Regions from separate parts of the Homo sapiens genome. Here regions 1 and 3 are each linked to region 2. The links are contacts of gene promoters, found by promoter capture Hi-C in human tissues and cell types (Jung and others, 2019). All regions are on one chromosome and are shown on one strand. The core of a region is centred on a gene start or on the middle of the fragment in contact, and the rest is flanking DNA. Distances in the headings are between cores, read along the strand shown.

What was found. The method cuts DNA at HindIII sites, captures the fragments that hold promoters and counts their contacts. A contact is called where the count stands out against the background at its distance.
Region 1: the fragment with the promoter of CCDC107 here is called in contact with the fragment with the promoter of VCP in region 2 in 1 of the 25 tissues and cell types used here (neural progenitor cells).
Region 3: a contact is called between the fragment with the promoter of FAM219A here and the fragment with the promoter of VCP in region 2, in 1 of the 25 tissues and cell types used here (spleen).

The regions. Positions count from the first base shown.
Region 1 is chr9:35,656,901-35,659,600 of GRCh38, forward strand. It overlaps CCDC107 (coiled-coil domain containing 107), which reads left to right and starts at 1,392. Exons shown (of 5, transcript NM_174923.3): 1 at 1,392-1,585; 2 at 1,676-1,827. The coding sequence starts at 1,480. ARHGEF39 (Rho guanine nucleotide exchange factor 39) reads right to left here. Exons shown (of 9, transcript NM_032818.3): 9 at 2,443-2,700. It also overlaps RMRP. RefSeq lists enhancers at 156-664, 665-1,172 and a silencer at 1,255-1,514. The HindIII fragment of the contact is 10,595 bases long and covers 1-2,700 here.
Region 2 is chr9:35,071,229-35,074,028 of GRCh38, forward strand. It overlaps VCP (valosin containing protein), which reads right to left and starts at 1,397. Exons shown (of 17, transcript NM_007126.5): 1 at 1,109-1,397. The coding sequence starts at 1,125. FANCG (FA complementation group G) reads right to left here. Exons shown (of 14, transcript NM_004629.2): 14 at 2,611-2,800. RefSeq lists a silencer at 475-1,104 and enhancers at 1,505-1,554, 1,755-1,894, 1,915-1,964. The HindIII fragment of the contact is 21,663 bases long and covers 1-2,800 here.
Region 3 is chr9:34,457,167-34,459,866 of GRCh38, forward strand. FAM219A (family with sequence similarity 219 member A) reads right to left here and starts at 1,404. Exons shown (of 6, transcript NM_001184940.2): 1 at 1,038-1,404. The coding sequence starts at 1,097. DNAI1 (dynein axonemal intermediate chain 1) reads left to right here and starts at 1,639. Exons shown (of 20, transcript NM_012144.4): 1 at 1,639-1,887. The coding sequence starts at 1,840. RefSeq lists enhancers at 1-70, 1,202-1,742, 1,305-1,599, 1,696-1,765 and a silencer at 1,076-1,325. The HindIII fragment of the contact is 10,660 bases long and covers 1-2,700 here.

The sequences.
Region 1 (2,700 bases), core at 142-2,641, 590 kb after region 2:
CTGAGAACTGAAGGTCGTGTAGAACCCAGTATGCAGAAAGGGAATGCAGCGGCATGTCAGGGAGAGTCAGTGTAATTTCAACTGTCTGGCTTACAGTAGTAGCTGCTCAAGTTAAAAAATCACTAGAGTCCGTCGGGGTGGCACGTGCCTGTAATGTCAACTACCCGGGAGGCTGAAGCGGGAGGATCCCAGGAGTTTAAGACCAGCCTGGGCAAGAGAGCGACCCGCCGTTCCAAAAAAAAAAAAATCACTAATAAGTAGGCACGGTTCTAACTTGAGTGATCCCATTTAATCATCATAGCTCTTGAAGTAAGTGCTTATCTTCATTCCTCAGAGTGGAAAGGAAGGCACGGAGAGAGAACTAAGTTTCACAAGGTCACCGCTCTTGAGTACAGGAGGCAGGATTCTAGCCCAAGCAGAGTCCATATGTTGTGTACCAGCTACACAGTGAATGGTGGCTACTATGGCGTTTGCCAAAGGGAGAGGGAGGTAGAAGAGGAGGCTGTTTCAGGAATGCTCCATATTTGGAGTAATGAGCACAAGGACTTCATAGCAAGGCCAAGAACAGCGTAAAGCTGCCCGCGCATGAAAAGCAGCCGCGTTGACCGGGCGCGGTGTCACGCCTGTAATCCCAGCACTTTGGGAGGGCGAGGTGGACTGATCGCTTGACACCAGGCGTTCGAGACCAGCCTGGGCAACAGGTGAAAATCCGTCTCTACAAAAAATACAAAAATTAGCCAGGCATGATGGCGTGCGCCTGCGGTCCCAACTACTTGGGAGCCTGAGGTGAGGCATCGCGTGAGCCCGGGGAGGTCGAGGCTGCAGTGAGCCGTGGTCTCGGGAACAAAAAACAGCCGCGCTGAGAATGAGCCCCGTGTGGTTGGTGCGCGGACACGCACTGCCTGCGTAACTAGAGGGAGCTGACGGATGACGCCCCCGCGCCACGCCGCTCAGCGGGATACGCTTCTTGGCGGACTTTGGAGTGGGAAGCGGGGAATGTCTACGTGCGTATGCACGTGGCACTCTCTGCCCGAGGTCCGGGGACTTTCCCCTAGGCGGAAAGGGGAGGAACAGAGTCCTCAGTGTGTAGCCTAGGATACAGGCCTTCAGCACGAACCACGTCCTCAGCTTCACAGAGTAGTATTTTATAGCCCTAAAGAAATTGTGTTTTATGATTAGGGTGAGAAAGTTGGTGGCGTGAGATTAAAAAAACCGTTTTCGGGCATAACTTTCTAAGACTATAGGCTTTCAGAGGCATTGTGGCTAGCAGAATAGCTAATAGACACGAAATGAACAAATACAGGAAAGCTAGAATGACACTATCTTATGCAAATATGGTCTGGCCCCGCCCTACGGGGAGTGGGCGTGGCCTCCCCGGAGCCGGCCGGCCTGCTCGCGTGCGCGTGCGCGTTGGGGCGGCCGGCCAATGCCGGACCGCTTCGGCACCGCCCGCCCGATCCCTCCACCCGTGGGCCGGCAATGGCGGGCGCAGTTTCGCTCTTGGGTGTGGTGGGGCTGCTGCTTGTGTCTGCGCTGTCCGGGGTCCTAGGAGACCGCGCCAATCCCGACCTCCGGGCACACCCAGGTACCAGCTAGGGCTGCTGGAGGAGGGCTGGGACTGCGCACGGGTCCCAGGCCCCAGCTCGGCTGACTCGCCTGTATCCTCCCTCCGCAGGGAACGCAGCCCACCCCGGCTCTGGAGCCACGGAACCCCGGCGGCGACCACCGCTCAAGGATCAACGCGAGCGGACCCGGGCCGGGTCGCTGCCTCTGGGGGCGCTGTACACCGCGGCCGTCGCGGCTTTTGTGCTGTACAAGTGTTTGCAGGTACGGGGCGGCCGGGGGTAGGGGTGCCCCTGCAGGTGCGGGACCGCCGGGCGTGGGGATCCCCTGAGCCCGAATCTCCCATGGGGGTGCCAGGGTACCAAGAACAAGACACAGCTTCCCTGTCTGTAAAATAAAGACAGTAGTCCGTTGGCCTTCCAATATTATGAGGTTATTTTGAGGATCCAGGGAGGTAACGGATGTGAAGAGCGTGTGGTGAACTGTAAATAATGACTATCACATTTAGTTCTCCTACAATCCAGTGAGGAGTAGTCACTTGCTCGAGGTCACCCAGCGCTGGCAACTGCTGGAGCTGGGATTTGAACCCAGCTAGCAGTGTCCATGCTACAAGAGTGGGGCCAGCCTTGGCACAGGAGGTTGATTGCTGCAGCCAGTGTTTCTAGAGTTCCAGATATGAAGTGGTCTCATGTTCTCCTTGGGAGGAGGCCCTGAAATGTAAGTTGACAGTACATTTTGAAAAACAGTACCTTCCAGGGCTGTGTCTTTAGCCGTGACCCTATTACGTACTTGCATTATAAAATAGAACCGATGGAACCAGTTTAGATATATGAAACTAGAAGAGATAGCTAATAATGACCCCAGGTAGATGTGACAGGCTAGGATGAATGACTGAATTTAATGATGAACTTTGAGAAGGATAGACTAGTAAATTCTGTTCTTGGACCTGAGTACAGTCTGGGAGAAACATAATGTAGCAGGAGGTCTTATGAAAGAGAGTTAGGCATTCCAGTTGACTGAGTTCACTGTGGGATGTGACAAGCCACTTCCCAAATCAGTGCTGGGAACATGGCACTGTGCTTCACCTGCCAATCAGAATGCCCCTGGAGAATTGTATTCTCCTCAGGGCATTGCTTT
Region 2 (2,800 bases), core at 147-2,646:
CTCAAAAAACTAATCTCTTCAAGGAAGGAAGGTAATTTGCATAGAGTTTCCTTGGGCTGGCTGTGTTTTTTTTTTTTTTTTTTTTTTTTTTTTTGCCTCTAAAAGCTCTCTATTCTAAATTGAATGGGCTGAGGTAGCCAAGTTTTATCTAACGCTTTCCTAAGGATGGAGGTGGGGTCAGAAAGCCCCAGAGCCCGGGTAATTTCTCAATATAGCTGGTTGGGGAAAGGAGTGCGCGCACGTTTGTGTTTTTGAAGAGTTAGTGCAACTCTAAACTGCACACCACGAAACCTGGAAATCTGGAAAGGCGCACAAAACACGAACTGAGATTCCAACTTTAGCAAGAACCTAAAATGTTAAAGAAAAATTCCTTTCTCCCCACCCACGAGTCATAACATTAAGGAAAACTGGCTCAAACTTTCTAGTATGAACAACAGGCCTAAAGTAAGAAGACCAGAAGCGAAAGGTAGGGCTCGCCCTCTCCCTAACAGTCCTTCACGACTCAGGTCACACACAGAGGATGCCCACCTCCGGCCCCGCCGACCCGGCTCCAAAAAGGCGGCTGTGAGCTTCCCTGAGCTCGGCGGGCCTTCCCCGACCCCGGGCTCCGCCTCGGTGGCAGAGCTCCTGAGGCCTTCACATGGCGCAAAGTCCACGCCCACCGGGCCCGGCTGGGGCCTCGGGCTCGCGGGGCCTGCTCTCTCCGGGGACCAAAGGCTTTCGGCGGGTGGTAGGCCGGACGGCAGACTGGCGCCCCAAAGCCCCGGGGCGCCGCGCCGGCGGAGTGGGCCGGAAGACCTGGCCAGGCCCAGACGTCCGTTCTAAGGGAGCCAATCGGGCGGGCCGGGGCCTGCATGACACAGCACGATCCGGCCCAGGCTCCGACCCGGACCCAACGCAAGCCCCGCCTAGGGGGCGCGCGGGTGCGCAGCTGGCCCCAGCCGGGCCTGCCGGGTCCACGGCCCCTCACTCGCCCCCTAGCTTCCCTTCCCTCTTTCCTGGTCTCCACCTCTCTGACGCGCCCACGGCCAGGCCCCGCCGGGCCTACCCTGCGCGGCTGGTCCCGGTGCGCGCCGCCGCAGCAAGCGAACGGCGCGCGCACACTCACTCGGCTCCAGAAGCCATGGCGCGCGCCTCTCCCGGCCGGCGGCTGTGGCGGCCCGCGGGTAACGGCTACGAGCGGTGGCAAGCGACCGACTGGGCCGGGGCTCGGCTCTTCCAGGCGGTGGGCGAGCAGCGGCGACAAACCCGCAAGCGGCTTCCCTCTCGCTTCCTCCCACCGGCAGCGAGGCGTCGGGCGAACAACGCTGGCTCCTGATCCGCGAGGTGGCAGTGGCAGTGGCAGCGGCAGCGGCAGCGACGACTCAAACGACGGTCGCAGACGCTTCGCTGAGACTGAGCCGAGAAGAGCCGAATCATCGGAAGGGAAGCTGCTCCCACCTCAGCCAATCAGCGCCTGCCCTGCGGACTCTCGCCCGCCTCTCCGCGCCTCTCCCCAGCAACCCGCAGATCACAGCCAATCAGGAAATTCGCTTGCGGCCTGGCTCCCGCCTCAGTGATGCGACACGCCTAGTAACGCCACGTCAATTGGCCGCAACGCTACGCTTCCTCGACGGATTGGAATTCTCAGCCAATCAACGAAAGGAATAGGGCGAGATCGATTAGTGAAAGGAGACCCTTTAATCCCTTAGAGGCGGACTCTCCCACTTGGCTCCAGTTCATTGGCTCCGGAGTTTATCCTCCTGGAAGAACGTGGCACAATAGACTGAACCCTTGTATTAGTCTAGTCCTATTGTGGTAACCCATACACCCATCTTCTCCCAAAACCTGGAGATCTTCTAAGACGCCATCACCACCCTGACACTTCTTGCTCCTTCTCAACGCTGCCTCCAACCACCCCTACTCTGAACTTTCTGACTAGCACCCCACTCCTACCCCATTGTCACTGCACCCTCTGGTAACCCCAATCCCACAGCCTTTGCAGTTTCTCAGCGCTTGTGCCTTTCTTCCTCCCGTCATTAATATTAATACCTTATAATAAGGCACTCAAATCCAGAGAAGTCAAAGGGCAACCACAGAACACACAGCCAATTCAGTAGAACCCAAATTAGCAAGAAAACTGCATATGCTGGGACTTGAAAATCCTTGGGCCCCAAATAACAGGGGTCCCTGTTAGTAGTCAACAGGCAGCTGTTGGTGATATGCTGACTCAATTCACCTTTCACCCTGTACCCACACAGACACATTTGACTAAGACGAGTCGAATTTCTAGAATTTGGAATTAGGAAGGGAGTGAAGAGTTACTCTGAGAGAAACCTGCCTGTCTCTAAGTAACAGGTACCTGCCCTTGTCCTGAGAGGCCTATCTAGACCACCCTTCAGACCCAACTCCACTCATTGTCACTGTCCTGGGCTTTGGGGCTCTGCATTCAGGCAATGTGAAGGACTAAAGCCACTGCCTCCAAAGTGAGGATTCCTGTAGCCCTTTCCTCATACCCAGACTTCAAGTTCATAAGGTAGACGATGTCAGGAAAGGGCATCATAGACAACTAGCACTCAACTAGACGGTCACAAGCCTTCCCACGCAAGTATATGTAGTAGGCAGACGAGATAAATATGAAATTTTACTCGACAACAGAAAAGGAGAAACAGGAAAAAAGGTGCCTCGAGCAAAGTCAATGACTTGGTGGTGGCAGAGATTGTTTCCTCCAAAACGAGAATGGTAGTAACTAGGGCAAATTTCACAGGCCTACCACCAATCTCACCAGTCCAGGAATTATATAGGAATGGTCACATTCCTA
Region 3 (2,700 bases), core at 154-2,653, 610 kb before region 2:
GCTCAGGCTCCAGGGGGATAAAGCGAACACAGCCTAGACATTCCCTCTCTTCCCCCCTCACTATACGAGCTGGCTAGGCCTCCACGTCTCCCACCCGGTTGCCTGACAGACAAGCGAGGTCAGGGAGCCCCCTGGGCGGTGGCCAGCAAGCATGGTCTCCCTTAGGCCTAGCCTCGGTGCACCCGAGTTGCCCTCCCCCTTCCATTCCCTCCGCGCCAGCAGCGATGACATCATTCCTCCCTGACTCCGGGACCGCGGACAGGCGGCAGGATCCGCGCCCAGCAAGGACTTCAGGCACGTAGGCCTAAGATGATGGGGGCTCTTCCCAACCAGTGCGCACAGGCAGCTCCAGCGCGACCCCACTTCCTCTCCCGTCGGTTCCCGAGCACTCTCATCTGCACCCCGATTCCCCATCTGGTCGCCGCGCACTCTCCTTCCCGGTTTAGATGCCCCCAGCCTGGTCTGCCTGCGCTCCCCACCGGAGAACGGAATTCCCAGGTTCTGCACCAACCACCTTCCCCCACTGGGTCCCTCGCCCCGGCCCAGCGTTCCTGTCCGTATATCCAGCGGACAGGCGGGCAAGCCCCTCCTCTTCTAAAAGCTGATTCCCAATCTCTCTTAGCCTGACGGCTCCCCCGCCCTAAGCATCACAGGCCTCTAGGACTAAACGCCTCCCCACCTCCCATCCCAGACCCCTGGGCCTGCCGCCGGCGGTGCCCCATGGCAGTTCCCTCGCCAGTCCCTGCTATGGGCCTCCACTAGCGGTGTGCACCTTTGTGCCCCCTCCGTTCCATCCGACGGTGCCCTGCTTCCACCGACGGTGCCCTCCGCCCTTACAGGTCCCTTTGCTCTCATCCAGCATATTCTCCCACGGTTTTCTTGTCCTGCAAGTCCCCGTCCCCCGGCAATACGTTTTCAGGGATCTCTTTGCCCCATCCGATGGCGCCCCTCCGCACGATCCCCCCGGCCTGATTCCCTCCCTCCCCCTCAAGCGACGCCCCCTCCGGCCTTGGCCTGCCCGCCGCCCGCCCCCTCACCAGCGGCTGCATCTCCGAGTGCGCGGTGGGCACCTGGAACCGGTCGATCTCCTCCATCATGGTGCCGGCGGGCGAGCGGGCCAGGGGCCGGGCGCGGCCGCGGACGCCGACAGGACCGCGCGGGGCGGCGGCCCCAGGAGCCCGGCGGGTGGTGCAGACTAGGCCTCCCCGGACCACTCGGGCGGGCAGGGGCCGGGCGGATGCAGGGGTGGGCGGGGGCGAGAGGTTCGCAGACTGGCTGAGGCCGGCGTGACTCCGTGGGCTTGCCTAGCACTACCGCGGCTGTGGCCGGGCCGAGCCGCAGGTCTTGCCTCGCCTCCTACTCCGCTGCCGCCTCCTGTCAGCAGCTCAGCCACTGCGGTGACTCGGCAACTCCACTTCCGGGTCCGGGACACCGCCCGGATCTTGCATTATTCATGAGGAGGCGGTGCCTGGGGACCCCAGCCCCACCCACATGCGGGAGTTCCGAATGCGCGCGGCCGCCCAGCTGTGATTCCTGAGGGGGCGGGGCTTAGTGGAGACTCGCTCGCCGCGCGCCCAACCCCGCCTCCTTTCCGGGCCGGCTGGGCGCGCCGAAGCGCCTGCGCCTTGGCTGCTGGTCGGTTGCTGGGTAACCGCGTCAGGGAGTTGGATTCTATCCTGCAAGGGCACGGGGACCCACAACGACGGCTGTCCCTAAAGAACCGTTGCGACTGGTAACTGAAGTGGAAGAGAGTCCAGATTTCTTGTGTGTGGTCAAGGAGACGGACAAACTTTTTGTCTTCAGACGAGGGAGCGTTTTGTAGGCTCTCCAGGGGTTGAGATGATTCCTGCTTCTGCGAAGGCTCCCCATAAACAGCCTCATAAGCAGGTAACGTACGCACACCTTCCTTCTGATGACCTCTGACCTTCGTCGTCGCCAGTGACCACTAATCATACCTCTCCTACTGATCCTTGATCTTTTCTCTGTTGACCCCAGCCTTCTCACCCCCGTGACCTCTGGTAAGTGCTCCCACTGACCTCTGACTCTGTCCTACTCTTTCCCACTAATCCCGGCCTCCTCTCCCATACTACCCCAATCCACCGTTTCTTACCTCTCTCCTTTTATCCACCATTCCCATCTCTTCACTTCACTTTACCCCATGGACTCATTCTGACCAGTCTATTCTCCTTAACTTCCCCATCCCCATTCCCACGAGTCCCTTCCTCCTTGTTCTCACATTCTTGTCCCAAAGGAATTTTTCTTTTTCTTTTTCTTTCTTTCTTTCTTTTTTTTTTTTTGAGACAGAGGCTCGCCCTGTAGCCCAGGCTAGAATGCAGTGGCGCCATCTCAGCTCTCTGTAACCTCTGCCTCCTGGGTGCAAGCGATTCTCCCACTTCAGCCTGACGAATAGCTGGAACCAAAGGCATAGGCCACCACGCCCGGCTAAATTTTGTGTTTTTGGTAGAGACGGGGTTTCCCCATGTTGCCCAGGCCCGTCTCTAACTCCTGAGCTCAAGCGATCCTCCTACCTTGACCTTCCGAAGTGCTGGGATTACAGGCGTGAGCCACGGCGCCCAGCCTCAAAGGCATTCTTTATCCAACCCTTTGCTGTGTGCCTAGCTCCAGGCTAGGTGGGAACACAGCTCTTGCTGTTTGGGAGCCCACAGAGGGTGTGCAAGAGAACTAAACAGAATACAGGAC